Linked DNA regions of Homo sapiens: regions 2, 3, 4 and 5 are each linked to region 1. Evidence: promoter capture Hi-C in 16 types of primary human blood cells and fetal thymus (Javierre and others, 2016). All regions are on one chromosome and are shown on one strand. The core of a region is centred on a gene start or on the middle of the fragment in contact, and the rest is flanking DNA. Distances in the headings are between cores, read along the strand shown.

Region 1 (2,700 bases), core at 169-2,668:
TGGTCATAAGCAAACTACAAATCAAACCAATTCTGAAAGCACCTTGCATGTCTTTTTTCTTTTTTTTTTTTTGAGACAGAGTCTTGTTCTGTGTCCCAGGCTGGAGTGCAGTGGCGCGATCTCAGCTCACTGCAACCTCCACCTCTCAGGTTCACGCCATTCTCCTGCCTCAGCCTCCCGAGCAGCTGGGACTACAGGCGCCCGCCACCACGCCTGGCTAATTTTTTGTATTTTTAGTAGAGACGGGTTTTCACCGTGTTAGCCAGGATAGTCTCGATCTCCTGACATTGTGATCCGCCCGCCTCGGCCTCCCAAAGTGCTGGGATTACAGGCTTGAGCCACCGCGCCCGGCTGAATTTCTTTACAAAATACAGAAATTTAATTTCCCCAGAATGCAACAGCGTCATCACCTTACATTTATGCAACAGCTTACAAATTACAAATGATTTTTATAAACACTTCACCTCATCTTCATTATCCATCCTCTCAAGCCAACTTAACGACTGTAAACTTATCTATTCCTACTCTTGTTTTCTTTCCACTCAGTTCCGCCCTAAATCCTCCACAAGGTGCTCAGTGTGATCTTTTAAAAAAGCATTCACTGCCTTTCTTCGAGTTCTTTAAAGACCTCCTCCCTCATATATATTCAAGATCTACAAGGTCATTTGTGATCTGTCCCCTGCCTCCTTCAACTCTATTTCATTTCATTCTCCATCCCCATCCCCGCAGGCACCAACTACGTCTGTAAAGAGTCCAAACTATCTCTACGTCAGTGCCTTCATATTTGCTGTCCCTATGCCTGGCAACTGCTCTTCTCAAGGCTTGCTCCTTCATTCGCTACCTCAGAAAGGACTCCTCTGACCTCCGTAAGCTCCCTTCCCTGCTTATTAAGTGTTACAACCTGAAACCATTGTTTTCTGTCACGCCCCCCGACCCTCTCCCCAGACTGTAGACTCCACGAAGGTAGAGGGAAAGGTCTTGTTCACTGCTGAATCGCACACTTTTTGCATACTTGTTGAACGAACCACTAACATTTTTTGAACGCCGGCAATCACAGTCATTCCGCTCCCTTGTCTACATAACTCAACCCTTGCGAGGGGCTAGGAAAGCGGGCGGCAAACAACCTTGAGGGCCGAAGTTAACTTCAGCGGGAGTGAACGACAGGGGTGGGCTCCACTTTATCCAGTGCACTCGGAAGCCGGAGGGCCCCCACCAAAAAGAGCAAGGGGAACCCTCGCCCTCAACAAGGCCTGCATCTCCGGACTGGAGCTCAAGTATAGCCCAGCGAGTGTCAAGAAACGAAATTCTCCAAGGGTGGCGGAATCAAGCCCCAAGTCCCATGTGTCACTGGACCGGTGAGGAACCGAACTCACCTGAGAAACGAACACCCACACCTCACGCTCACGCCGACCGGAAGTCTTTGCACTTCCGTCTTCCGGGCGGAGGCCACCCGGGGCGGACGCATTGCACGCCGGGAGACAAAATGTCTCAAGAAGCCTTGAGAGGCGGGATTTTGGAACCCGGGCGCTGACGAGCTTCCGCCATTGGTGTGATCGCGGACCTAGAAACTTGGTCCGTCCCATACAGGTGTAGAAGTCGGATTTGGAGAATGCTGACGGGTGTCCGGTCAAGGTTAGGCCCCAGGTAGGTCCGCTTTCCGGACGTGGGCAGGGTAGCCCCGAGACTAACCTATGGAGTGAACCTGGCCAGGGGACCCTACTTGTCAGATAGGGAGCTCCGAGCCGACCTTTAGATCTGACCTCAGCGTTTACATGATACTCATGTATTTCCTTAGATCAAGTCAGCCTAGATCAGGTGTTCTTCCAGAGGCCGTATTGAGATCATTTTTATTTGCAGCCTGTGCATTTTCTCATCTCGGGTGATGGCCTCACAGATGTACACATATGTAAAACCGTATCAAACTGCACACTTTAAATATGTGCAACTTATTGCATGTCAGTTATACTCAAAGCGGTTACCAAAAACAGAAAACAAGCTTTTCCTACCCCAGAGAAGAATTTAAAGGGTAAAATGATCAAAGGATTTCAGTTCTATCAATGTTTACCTGTCTGATCACTTACGTATCAGACACAATGCTAAGCCTAGGACGATTGTCTTAGCTCACGAATAACACTTACTGTACAACTATTTCTACTGGCATAGGCTTTGGAACCATATAGGTCTGTGTTGTACTCTTGCTTCCAACACTTGTGAACGATATGGGTGAGTAATTAATGTCATAAGGGCCTGAATTTCCTTGTCCCTAAAGTGAACATAATACAACCTAATTGATGCTGTAAGAGTTCAACAAATGGTACCCTTTTTACATTATAGTTTCAAAAGTATAGCTACACAGTACTATTTGTAAGCAATGTTTCTAGAGATTTACGACATATACCCAAAAAACATGTCTTTAATGATGGCCTGGTAAACTCCTGCTGGTTGCCAGAAAAAGGGGTTCTGAGGCAATCTATGGGTACCTTTTTTCTTTAAATTTGTGTCCTTTATGAAACCATGCATAGTATGGAAATTACTGAATTCAGAATATAGCAAGGTTAAAGAGGCTGAAAAAAACCTAGAACATTTGATATAAAAAAAGGAAGCATGCCTAAGAAACCTGGTTTATTTAAATGAGATTTCGTTCTTATAAAGCAAGTGAATTTCTGTTTTACAAGTTAACCATATACTGTACCTCATCTT
Region 2 (2,700 bases), core at 105-2,604, 950 kb before region 1:
GGAAAGTGATCTTTTGATTTGTATTACCAATTACAACTTGTTCTTTCTGTTGTTCATTTTTAGGATATAAAGAACTTTTCATACATTTGATCTCCCTTTTTTGCTCCTTTTGAATAAACTTCATATTTTCCCTTTATACTCATATATGTTTTAATGGAAATGATGCATTTGATAATTTCAGGGACACTAAAATAATCATGAAAAATTATTTTCATGATTCCTAAGAGTTGGGAAGTTCTTAAAGCTTGCTTCTCCTTGCTCATTGATTATTCAATATTAACTTTCCCTATCTGAAAAATATGTTATATAAATGGAAATTTATAGCCTCAGTGCAAAGATAATTATATAGTTTGTAAGTTGTTTAAAAGAGAAGGACACCTTAAACTGTTGGAACTCTCCAAAATGTATTTGTTAATAAATAAGTACTACTAACTTGTTTGTGAAAATTTTATTACTAATGATATAATCTAAATTCGAATGAAGATATATTCTAGGGGTGGGGAGAATATCAGGAAAAATAGCTAATGCATGCTGGGCTTAATACCTAGGTGATGGGTTGATAGGTGCAGCAAACTGCCATGGCACGCGTTTACCTATGTAACAAACCTGCACATCCTGCACATGTATCCCAGAACTTAAAATAACATTTTAAAAAAGATGTATTTTAATCTTGTATTGATTATACATTAAAAATTGCTGCCATTTAATATGGGAACATAGCTTAATACTAATTGTGGAAATTGTTATAACAGTTATTTGCTTATAACTTTGGATTTTGATTTTCATATTTAGATTTATTTTTAACATAGATTTTATTTATTTTTTATTTTTTTGGAGACAGGATCTTGTTCTCTCGCCCAGGCTGGAGTGCAGTGGTGCAATATCGGCTCACTGCAGCCTCCATCTCCTAGGTTCAAGTGATTTTCCTGCCTCCACCTCCCAAGTATCTGGGATTACAGGCACATGGCACCACGCCCGGCTAATTTTTGTATTTTTTAGTAGAGATGAGGTTTCACCATGTTGGCCAGGCTGGTCTTAAACTCCTGACCTCAGGTAATCCACCTGCCTCGGCCTCTCAAAGTGCTGGGGTTACAGGTGTGCGCCACCGTGCCCTGCCCTAACATAGATTTTAAAGTGAACCAGTAACAGTATAGTTGAGCAGTAACCTTTGGATTTCACTGTTTTAATAATCTATGCTTTAAACTGCATCAGTTTATATATTATATATTATATATATAGTTAATAATATTCTTTATTAACAATATTGCCAAAATTTTTTTAAACAAGAGTTTACCAGGAAGAAAATAAGTTAGGTTTTAATAATTTATTTTGCATGTTTAATATCATTATTTAAAAAATATATTTCTTAGGAAATTAGCTCTTCAAAAAGGTTATAAAAGTTATAGTAACAGAGGTAATCTCTAAAAATAGAATAATGCATCTATCATATGGAAGCCATCATGAATTACTTTTCATATGTCTTCATTTTCTTTTATGTCAAGGTATAGTTTAAAATTATACCACTGAATTTTTCCTGGGTGCTAGATTTATTGCTCTGTGCTTTTGCACAGCTTTTTACTTAAAATGCTTTTGCAAGATGACTTCTGAATTCATCTTTACAGCTATGTTACTATCAAATGGCAAGCTAAAGTTTAAAAACAAGGCTTGGTTGTAAAACTATGCAAGAGTGTAGTTCAGCTCTCCTGAACTAATTGGGTAGTAAGTATGCACCAATTGCTGTTCTGCCCTGAATATGACATGAATAGAAAAAACCCTTTAGTAGCAAATGGATATTTTAGCACATAGCAGAAAATTAATTTTGTTTCTCAGTTAGCTCATATATATCTGAGTATGTACACAAACACACACACACACACACACAATTTTCTGACTATGGCTAATTCCTGAAAGCATGCTGTACTTACAAAGGATGCTTTTGCTCTGTAGGAATTCACCAAGGTAAAATTTTCAAAGCATATGAAGAGGATTGTTGAAATTAATTAGGAGGTGAGGGGAATCTTGGGATATCTACTTCTTCTAGCCTCTGAGCTATGGCTTGGAACCTTGGTCAGCCTTATTAAGGACTTCCTTAGTTTATAAGTGTATCTCCCATGGGATCACAAATGCTTTCTTGTTTGATTTAGTTCATTTGAAGAAACATTAAGTTTCTCCTACTCATTTATTCATTCAGTCACGCATTCACCCAGATTATTTATTGAGCACCTATACTATGTACCAGGTAATGGCAGAAGATAAGTATATATCATACCTTTTAGAACTATAGGAGTGACACTCTCCCCACGCTTTGGCTGGCATTCTCTTCTTTTTCCTAAATATTTCTGCACTAGCTAGCCTTCAGAATTGGGATTTTGTTACCATGCAACAGTGTATCAGATTTATATATTGTGACTTGGGAAACATACTTTAAAAATTAGTTTCTGTAAATTTGAGTATACCATCTGGTAAAGCTTATCACAGTGTATATATACACAAAAGAAATAGTTGGCTAATTGAAGTAATGTGTGTTGATCATTCCTTTCACCTTTTCTGTATTACCATTTTCTCAATTGGGAATTCTACCTTTAAAAACCACACAATTTTAATAAATGTAGGTTTTATTTTTTGCAGGTTTTTAGGAGTAATTTTTAAAAAAGGAAGAGACATGAAGAATGAATTTGCCAAAAATGAAAATGTTATAAA
Region 3 (2,700 bases), core at 179-2,678, 530 kb after region 1:
GGGGAATTCTCTACATTTAAAGTGTACTTATTAGTGAAAGTAATGGTATGAAATTATTTCAAAAGTTAATAAACATAAATAAACATATATATAAGAATATTTATACAACTGATTTGTTAATGCAAAAAAACCTCTGAAAAATAAAGACAAAAGAAATCAATAAGAATGATACAAATGATACACAAGATTTTTGCTACTATTAATTAGCAAATTACTTTGAGAACTTAATGCAACCTAAGCTAACCGTAGGTTTGGGATGAGGACTCTCTTCGCAGCTAGAAAAGATCCTTGTAAATGTGAAGGAATGCCTAGTAAGTAAAGTACGGTAGTAATTAAAATTGTAGTCTTGTATTCCTGTAATCCATTCCTTTTGGGAGCATCCTTTTGGGGGCATGACTGCATGTGGATATGATAAGCAACCAACTTAAAATCCTTCATCTAGCTGGGGCAGGAGAATGGCGTGAACCCGGGAGGTGGAGCTTGTAGTGAGCCAAGATCGTGCCACTGCACTCCAGGCTGGGTGACAGAGCGAGACTCCATCTCAAAAAAAAAAAAGAAAAAAAAATCCTTCATCTAAAAAGCAGCTCCTGGCCAGGCATGGTGCCTCATGCCTGTAATCCCAGCATTCTGGGAGGCCAAGGCAGGAGGACTGTTTCAGCCCAGGAGTTTGAGACCTGGGCAACACAGGGAGATCCTGTCTCTAAAAATAAAAATAAAATAAGATAAAATAAAATAAAATAGCCAGGTGTGGTGGCATGCACCTGTGTTCCCAACTACCTGGGAGGCTGAGGGGGGAAGATTGCTTCAGCCTGGGAAGTTGAGGCTTCAGTGAGCCATGATCATGCCATTGCACTCCAGTCTGAGCAACACAGTGAGATCTTGTCTCCAAAAAAAAAACAAAATAAAACAAAAACAAACGAACAACAACAACATAAAAGGATAAAAATAAAAAGCGGCTCCTGAACTCCTTGCCTTGCTTACCCTGCTCTAGCAATACTGTGCCCCGTGATGATCCTTACATGCCAAGTTCATTCCTGCTGCATGGCTTTTGTACTTGCTCTTCTCTCTGTGTAGAATACTCTACCCTAGATAGTCATGTGGCTTTCATGTCTTGGCTCAAGTATCACCTAATCAGAGGCTGTTCCTGACTACTCCATTTCAAATAGCGCTTTCCCCCTCACTCTGTAACCTCACACCCTCTGTTAACTTTCTGCATAACATTGAGTGTGCATTTATTTGAATATTTGTTTATTGTTTTACTCTGCCATTAGAAGTGAAGCTCCATGGATGCAGAGACAAGGCCTATTTTATTTGCTGCTGTGTAAACCCTCACCACCCAGAGTTTTATCTCACACGTAGGTGCTCAATAAATATTTGTGAATGAATAAATGAAGTTGTCATTGTGCATTTCTTTTTGCAAACAACTTTGCTCTATTTATTTCATAACAAAATACTTAAAAGTTACATTTCCACATGCATTAATACAGTGTCACATAATCCTTGAGGATGTGAATGTTAAGGTGTTTCCATTTCATAAGCTCCTAAAAAAGAACACATGTACCAGTCTCTGTATTGATTCTAATTTAATATAAACTCTATATGTACACAATCTAATAGAACAATTCTTTTACATTTAAAATTGCTGTTCATTCTGACAGTATGTTTTGTATGTTCTCTAAACATGGACATTTTAAAGATATAGTTCTTGAAGGACCCAGTTTTGTAGCATATACTCACTGATGACTCAATAACTATTAACTCTTGGTGACTTGTTGCCATGCAATTCTCTTGTAAATTCTCTCTAGTGGAAAAGAAAAAGGAGTTCTACCTTGCTTTTAGACCACAGAAATGGTCTTATATAGTATAAACTCCCAAAACGCATAGAGTTAACACACAGGTTCAACACACAAAATAAACAAAGGGTTGTTTTTCTATTAAAATGATTCTATTTGCTGTACCAAGATAGCATCAAAATAAATCAATGTTCATGCTTCTTTAGAGAGAAAAACTAAAGTATCTACTGTTTTCTATGATTCTCATGTTGATGCCTAAATGCATAAAATGTGACGGCCTCAGCCCAACTATTCTCTTGTGAACTGTTAGCTGTCTTTGAAGTAAGGAATCAATATTGTGTTCACGTTAGAATTTGTGACTATCTTCAAACCTTAGTTTGGCTATTAAAATGGTCTATAAAATTCATACCCTAAAATAATAGCTAAATATTAAATATCAAAATCAATATCATAATATATCTCCTATTATAATAATGCACCTACGTATTCAAATGAATGACTGTAGCTTAGTATTGGAATATTTATCAGATTGTTCTTATGTCATGGGTAAACCTTCAATGCTGTTTGAGGCACTGAGGAAAAATGATTAAATTAATGAATTATCCTCTAATTGATATTTAAATCAAGAACTTATCCATCAGCTAATAACAAAGTATCAATTAGTTATTATTAATCAAGGTCTGTTAAACAAGATTTGTATTGTATAATTACAACATCTTCAACATTTATATTTCATGAAACCATAAGACTACATAATAATTGTACAAAATTTTACAAAGCAATTTCACATACACATTTCTCATAAACCAGTTTCAGCCCATTGTTTCATATGGCAGCACATAACACATTTCTGCTGCATGAAGTGATGTTTGAAAAGAAGCCTACGTTATTAGTTTGTCAATTTGCT
Region 4 (2,700 bases), core at 120-2,619, 850 kb before region 1:
CTCGGAGAGGACGGGGGTGCGGGGCGGCGGGCAGGCGGCAGGGAGGGGCGCACCCGGGAGCGCACCCGCCGCCCGCCCTCCCTGCGCTGCTGCCCCGCTGCTGGGCCAGACTCCAGCGGGCCCGCCTGGCATTTCACAGGCCAAAATCGAACAGAACCCCGAGTTTGCCAGGTATCAGTTTTGCTTTGTTTTTAAGCAGAAAAAGGCATCCAAGTCTATTTTTGAAGTTTTACACTGGGCTATTTCGAGTCAAACTATATGAATGAAAAGTGCTGTTCCTGCCTTATTTGGTTTAGGGCTAATAGCTATCGGAAGTGGCAGTTATGAAGTCGTTACAGTAAGACTTTATAAGATAATCTTCTTGAATCATGTGGGAACTGTTGGGGGGAATTTAATATCAGATTATTATTTTAAAAAGCAGTTATTTTAAAGTACAAAGGTAGGGATAAAGGTAAATGTGAAATTGCATGGACTTTTACGTTTGTGATGAGTAGTCGTCAAAGCTTCTTGCTTCTTAATTTTATCGGGAATGGAAGAATATAAATTATAATTCCTTAGAGCTGAGATTTCTTAGGAGATTTTAGTTTGCTTTTGTTTTTTCTACCAATAGACTAAATTGTCAAATAAGATATGGCAAACTAGGACTCATAAATTAGTTGAAACATGACTCTATGAAGCATAGATTATATTCAGTACTCTCTGGTTTATCTCTTCATATTTTCATTTGCAGCGCTGGTGGCAAGATCGATTTTCAAAAACAATTTTGTCTATAAAAAAACTTCAGGGTTCATATAACTTATAAAATTGTCAGTTCAGATTAATGGCAGATATTTACAATATTTAACTTTATTCAATTTGCAATTTGTAAATAGTAACTTGAGCAGTGATATCAGTTTCATGTTTCTTTCTGCATAGTATTGTTTTTCAAAAAAACCCTGTTTTTTATAGATTCATATTTTGGAAGTAACTTTAATAGCACTTCTTGGGAAATACAACAGGTTCTAATTTCACATTTTTCAATGGATTTCTAAAAAATACTGTGCTGGATAGTGAAGAGTGGATTTTATTGCCAGGAAACATATGTATGCTTTCTTTTTCCTCAGTGATGTGTTGACTTACCTAATACTTGTGGTGAAACGGCCTTCGAAGACCAGAATCCACTGTACTGGCCCCTTGCCAGTAATTTTGAACATCAAGTTTATATTTGGACCATTTAAACATATATTCTTTTAATTCCGGTCCCAGCTGATATATCAGTCTAATTTCTGATGACTTTTATTAGGGCCCTATATGAATATCTGGAAATTTTTATATTAAGATAAGTAGCTCTTTGCTACTTATCTAGAATTTTGTCACAGTGCTTAAACTGCTTGTATGGCAAGGTTGCAGCATACAATGTAATTTAGATTTTGAATCAACACACTGCTTTTTGTTTTTAAAAGTGCTTGTTCTAATATTTTAACTAAGATGTTAATCCATTAAGTCAGAAATCCTTGCTATTTTGCTCAACTCAAAAGAATATCCAAAGACTATCCCAACAGTAAGGTTCATCAGTTTTTCTAATACATATGCCATTTAATAATTAAAAATAGATTTTAAGGCCACGTGTGGTGGCTCATGCCTGTAATGCAACACTTTGGGAGGCCAGTGTGGGAGGATTGCTTGAACCCAGGAGTTCGAGACCGGCCTGGTCAACATAGGGATACCCTGTCTCTACAAAAATTAAAAAAAAATTAGCTGGGCATAGTGGCTCACTCCTGTGGTCTCAGCTACTTGGGAAGCCAAAGTGGGAGGATTGCTTGGGCCAGGGAGATCGAGGCTGTGGTAAGCCGTGATCACACCACTGCATTTTTGGTTCTGTCATAATCTGGTCACAATCCCTCTAATTTATCTGCACCTGTATAATTAATTTATCATAGTTATGGATTTGGTTGATGAATTTGATTCCCATGTTTAGCTTCTCGGTAAAATTATTAAGTTGGACAGTTTCCATGTCTCTTCTAACTCCAAGATCCTATAATGTTGTTTTTGTTTATGTAACTCTTCAGAGCCACCTACTACATGTGGTTCAAACTTCTGATTGTCAGCCTGTGACTTGCTATACATGTCAAACTGGCCTACCTTAGCCAGATGTGATGGGTGTGGTCCAGTGTTGGAGAGTCCGGATCTGTCTCAGGATTGTGTTAATACCTGGAACATGCACAAAGATACATACATACCTGGACAGATTCCGTGTTAAGCTTCTATCACTTTTTCTTCCTCATCTAATAGCAGAAAGTGCTGATTATGTCATAGGGTAAATGCCTAACTGGTTTTTGGGGATAGTTAAGCCCAGGCCTTAAGACAGTTTGATATTCAGTTTTGTTATTTAGGTCTGGGTTAGGGATACCGCCAGAGAGCATCCAAACATTTCTGTGGTTGGGAAGGCTAGTTATCTGTGAGCATTCCAGATGAAATAGCCTATAATGGGTTATCACCTTTTGATCTTACCTCAGAGAAGATTGAATTGGATCTACCTATCTGATTTAGCAGAATTAAACTGGATTTGGATGGAAGGGTAATCAGCTATTTAATTTGCCAGTTGTTAGTTAGCATTTCTTCTTGCTGTATCTCAAGGATTTACTTTGAATATTCTGTATTTTCTCTTTCCTGCCCATGATGGGTTTTCCTTTTAAAATGCTCAGCACAGGCTGGGTGTGG
Region 5 (2,700 bases), core at 135-2,634, 830 kb before region 1:
AGTGGCCTGATCTTGGCTCACTGCAGCCTTGATCTCCTGGGTTCAAGCAATCCTCCCGCCTCAGCGTTCCGAGTAGCTGGAACCACAGGTGCATGCCACCACGACTGGCTAATTTTTGTATTTTTGGTAGAAACAGGGTTTCACCATGTTGCCCAGAGTGGTCTCAAACTCCTGAGCTCAAGCGATCCTCCTGCCTTGGCCTACCAGAGTGCTGGGAATATGGGCGTGAGCCACCACACCCTGCTGATGGGACTACTTTCTAACAAAGAAATACAGACAGAATAATTAGTGAAGAAAGAAAGTAATAAATGAATTGAGTTTGGGATATAATAAGCAGTTTGAAGTAGATATGGAATGCTCAGATTCTTTGAAAAACATCTTTTAATCACCTAAAATTCACGAAGAAAAACAGTATAGGACAAAGTAGAAATTTTGCAAAATATTTTATTTCTTCTACTTTATGATCTCATTCAGGACTTTTCCTCTCTCCTAAGCCCAACATGATGTCAAAGGATAGTTGATAGAGGTCATTAAATATACCTTTTAGTGGAATATAAGGAGTCCATTTTCATAAAACTTCTCTTTTATCTGCTATATCAGATGCAAGCCATCATTATAATTTTATTTAATAATTTTCTATTTTCTATGGGGAGGGATACAAAAATTCAGATACAAGAGCAGATATTTACTTGTAATTTCCAGTGCTAAAACTTTTTATTCCATGAATGGGTGGCAAAGTTCTGACTTAAAATATATGAAATATGATTTAAGGATATGTATTTTTAAGGCTTATATTTAGCTCACTAAAAATAGTCTTTTAGTGATATAGATACTGTAGTTTATAGTCCCAGGCATAGGATTTAGTCAGCTTGCATTACCAGGTTTTTTCTTTAGATAAAATGGCCCATTGAGGCACTGGATCTTTTTTTATGTATAAGCTTTACTTTTATAAAAAACCTGCACATGGCTCTTGGTACAGGGGAACTAAGGTGAAAAAAACTACCTGCAACTCCACCTCTTTCTATTTCTGTCTCACTCCTCTGAAGTCATGTTTTAAAATCATTATTCTAGTAGTTACTTTCATAATTTTGGTTAATATAGTTATAGTGCTATTTATTGATGCATCAGTTTCAGATAATAACCAGTTACAGAATATAAGTATTTATCTGCTGTCTCTTCACCTTTCTGTTTACCATTGTTAGACTTTAATAGACAACAGGCTAAGCTGCTCTGACAAAGAGATTACAAGTGGAGCAACTTACAGAAAGTAGAAGTTTCCCTTTCATATACTAGTCCAAGGTTGGGCTGGTGAATAGCTCTGCCTCATGACCTGTTAGGTTTGTCTTCCTCATCAAGTGCCTTACTTCTCAGGGTTCAAGTGTGCTGATGCAGTTGCTGCCATTTCTCAGGAGGGAAGAGGAAATCCAAAGCAAGTGACTTTGTCTTTAAAGGAGATGAGCTGAAAGATCATACATGACATTGAGTTACATTCCATTTTCCACAACTTAGTATCATGTTCACATCTAGCTGCAAGGGAAGGTGAGAAATGAGGCTGTATGTTCAGTTAAAATTTCAGGGGGTTCTATTACTAATAAGAAGAAGGGAGTATGGATTCTAGGGGTCAGTTAGCGTTTTCCAGTCTAGTTGGTGTCTTCTAACCCTCTACTTTATAAGAGGAGGACACTGATACCCTGAGTCTTTCCTCCACCTTTCTTTCCAGCCTTCTTTACATTTTGTTGCTATATAGTTTTTGTTTCACAATGTGAACTTGCTAATGCTTACAGTCTGTTCTGAAATCACAGTCAAATATTTGTCCATAGGTTGTCTCTAAAAGCTTATATTGTTATGACTATGTGCACATCGATTACTTCCAGGTCACAATGTGAGCTATTAATGTGGTTCCTTCTCATTAGTTCCAGGGTCATGATCTCAGCTGTTGAAAGAAACAGACATTTTTCTATCATCATGGCAAATGGATTGATTTTCCTTGTATTTGTTGATTGATTTAAAATCAAAAGTTGTATCTGTAAGGTCTGGATTTAGGCATTGACTTGCTAGATCACTAGCTTTCTACAGTGAATGTGCTTAGTGTCCAATAAACTTTCAATTGCTTCAGGAAATAAGATCTTCACATCGTCATTTTATTGTGACCAGAAGCTACTCAGTCACTTTTGCAGCTGAGGAAAATCTTTAGTTTTTGGTGTTGAGACAAGTTTATGAGCTCTGAGTGATCAAAGTCAAGTAGCTGTCTCCTGGCCTTTAATGTGGGAATATGAGAGGGCAGCCGTATCTTCTGACTAAATTAAGAATCTCTTTGGGATATTTAGGATAGAAGGGATGACTAATGAGAGAGAAACTATAGACTTTTGGAAGTGGTCTCACTGTCCTTGGCATTAGACTTCTCATCCTTCCAGACTCTGTTGTTTTCTAAAACAAGGACATCAATCTGGGGGCACAAGGGCCCCTGCCCTTGAGGAGTTTGGAATGTAGTAGAAGAGATTAAAATAAAGTTTAGTTCAAATTCTGGCTCCATAATTTACTGGCCATTTAACCTCAAGCAGGTAATTCTCTAAGCTTCAGTTTCAATTGGAACAAATAGCCCCCAAATCCCAATGGTTTAAAATGCTGAAGGTTTAGTTCTTCTTTGTACTGTTTGTTCACTGTGGTTCAGATGGGAGCTCTGCCCCGTATCTCCTTATC

The links. Contacts are between HindIII fragments. The CHiCAGO score rates a contact against its expected background, and 5 or more counts as called.
Region 2: a fragment that was not itself captured here is called in contact with the fragment with the promoter of LLPH in region 1 in 5 of 17 cell types (total CD8 T cells, total B cells, total CD4 T cells and 2 more); the score reaches 7.4 in total CD8 T cells.
Region 3: a contact is called between a fragment that was not itself captured here and the fragment with the promoter of LLPH in region 1, in 2 of 17 cell types (total B cells and naive B cells). The highest score is 5.6, in total B cells.
Region 4: a contact is called between a fragment that was not itself captured here and the fragment with the promoter of LLPH in region 1, in 3 of 17 cell types (megakaryocytes, erythroblasts and endothelial precursors). The highest score is 9.8, in megakaryocytes.
Region 5: a fragment that was not itself captured here is called in contact with the fragment with the promoter of LLPH in region 1 in 4 of 17 cell types (megakaryocytes, M2 macrophages, endothelial precursors and 1 more); the score reaches 7.2 in megakaryocytes.

What each region holds. Positions count from the first base shown.
Region 1 is chr12:66,129,332-66,132,031 of GRCh38, forward strand. LLPH (LLP homolog, long-term synaptic facilitation factor) reads right to left here and starts at 1,419. Exons shown (of 3, transcript NM_032338.4): 1 at 1,374-1,419. It overlaps LLPH-DT (LLPH divergent transcript), which reads left to right and starts at 1,420. Exons shown (of 2, transcript NR_125724.1): 1 at 1,420-1,644. RefSeq lists enhancers at 1,143-1,292, 1,333-1,442. The HindIII fragment of the contact is 2,232 bases long and covers 1-1,994 here.
Region 2 is chr12:65,179,129-65,181,828 of GRCh38, forward strand. The region is part of intron 1 of LEMD3 (LEM domain containing 3); the gene reads left to right. Among named protein-coding and RNA genes, the nearest start is that of LEMD3, 11 kb to the left of the region's middle. The HindIII fragment of the contact is 2,224 bases long and covers 243-2,466 here.
Region 3 is chr12:66,658,038-66,660,737 of GRCh38, forward strand. The region is part of intron 1 of GRIP1 (glutamate receptor interacting protein 1); the gene reads right to left. Among named protein-coding and RNA genes, the nearest start is that of GRIP1, 20 kb to the right of the region's middle. RefSeq lists an enhancer at 888-1,389. The HindIII fragment of the contact is 3,950 bases long and covers 1-2,700 here.
Region 4 is chr12:65,279,347-65,282,046 of GRCh38, forward strand. All of the region lies in intron 1 of MSRB3 (methionine sulfoxide reductase B3), which reads left to right. Among named protein-coding and RNA genes, the nearest start is that of MSRB3, 2.0 kb to the left of the region's middle. RefSeq lists a silencer at 1-86. The HindIII fragment of the contact is 1,737 bases long and covers 502-2,238 here.
Region 5 is chr12:65,298,059-65,300,758 of GRCh38, forward strand. All of the region lies in intron 1 of MSRB3 (methionine sulfoxide reductase B3), which reads left to right. Among named protein-coding and RNA genes, the nearest start is that of MSRB3, 21 kb to the left of the region's middle. The HindIII fragment of the contact is 896 bases long and covers 937-1,832 here.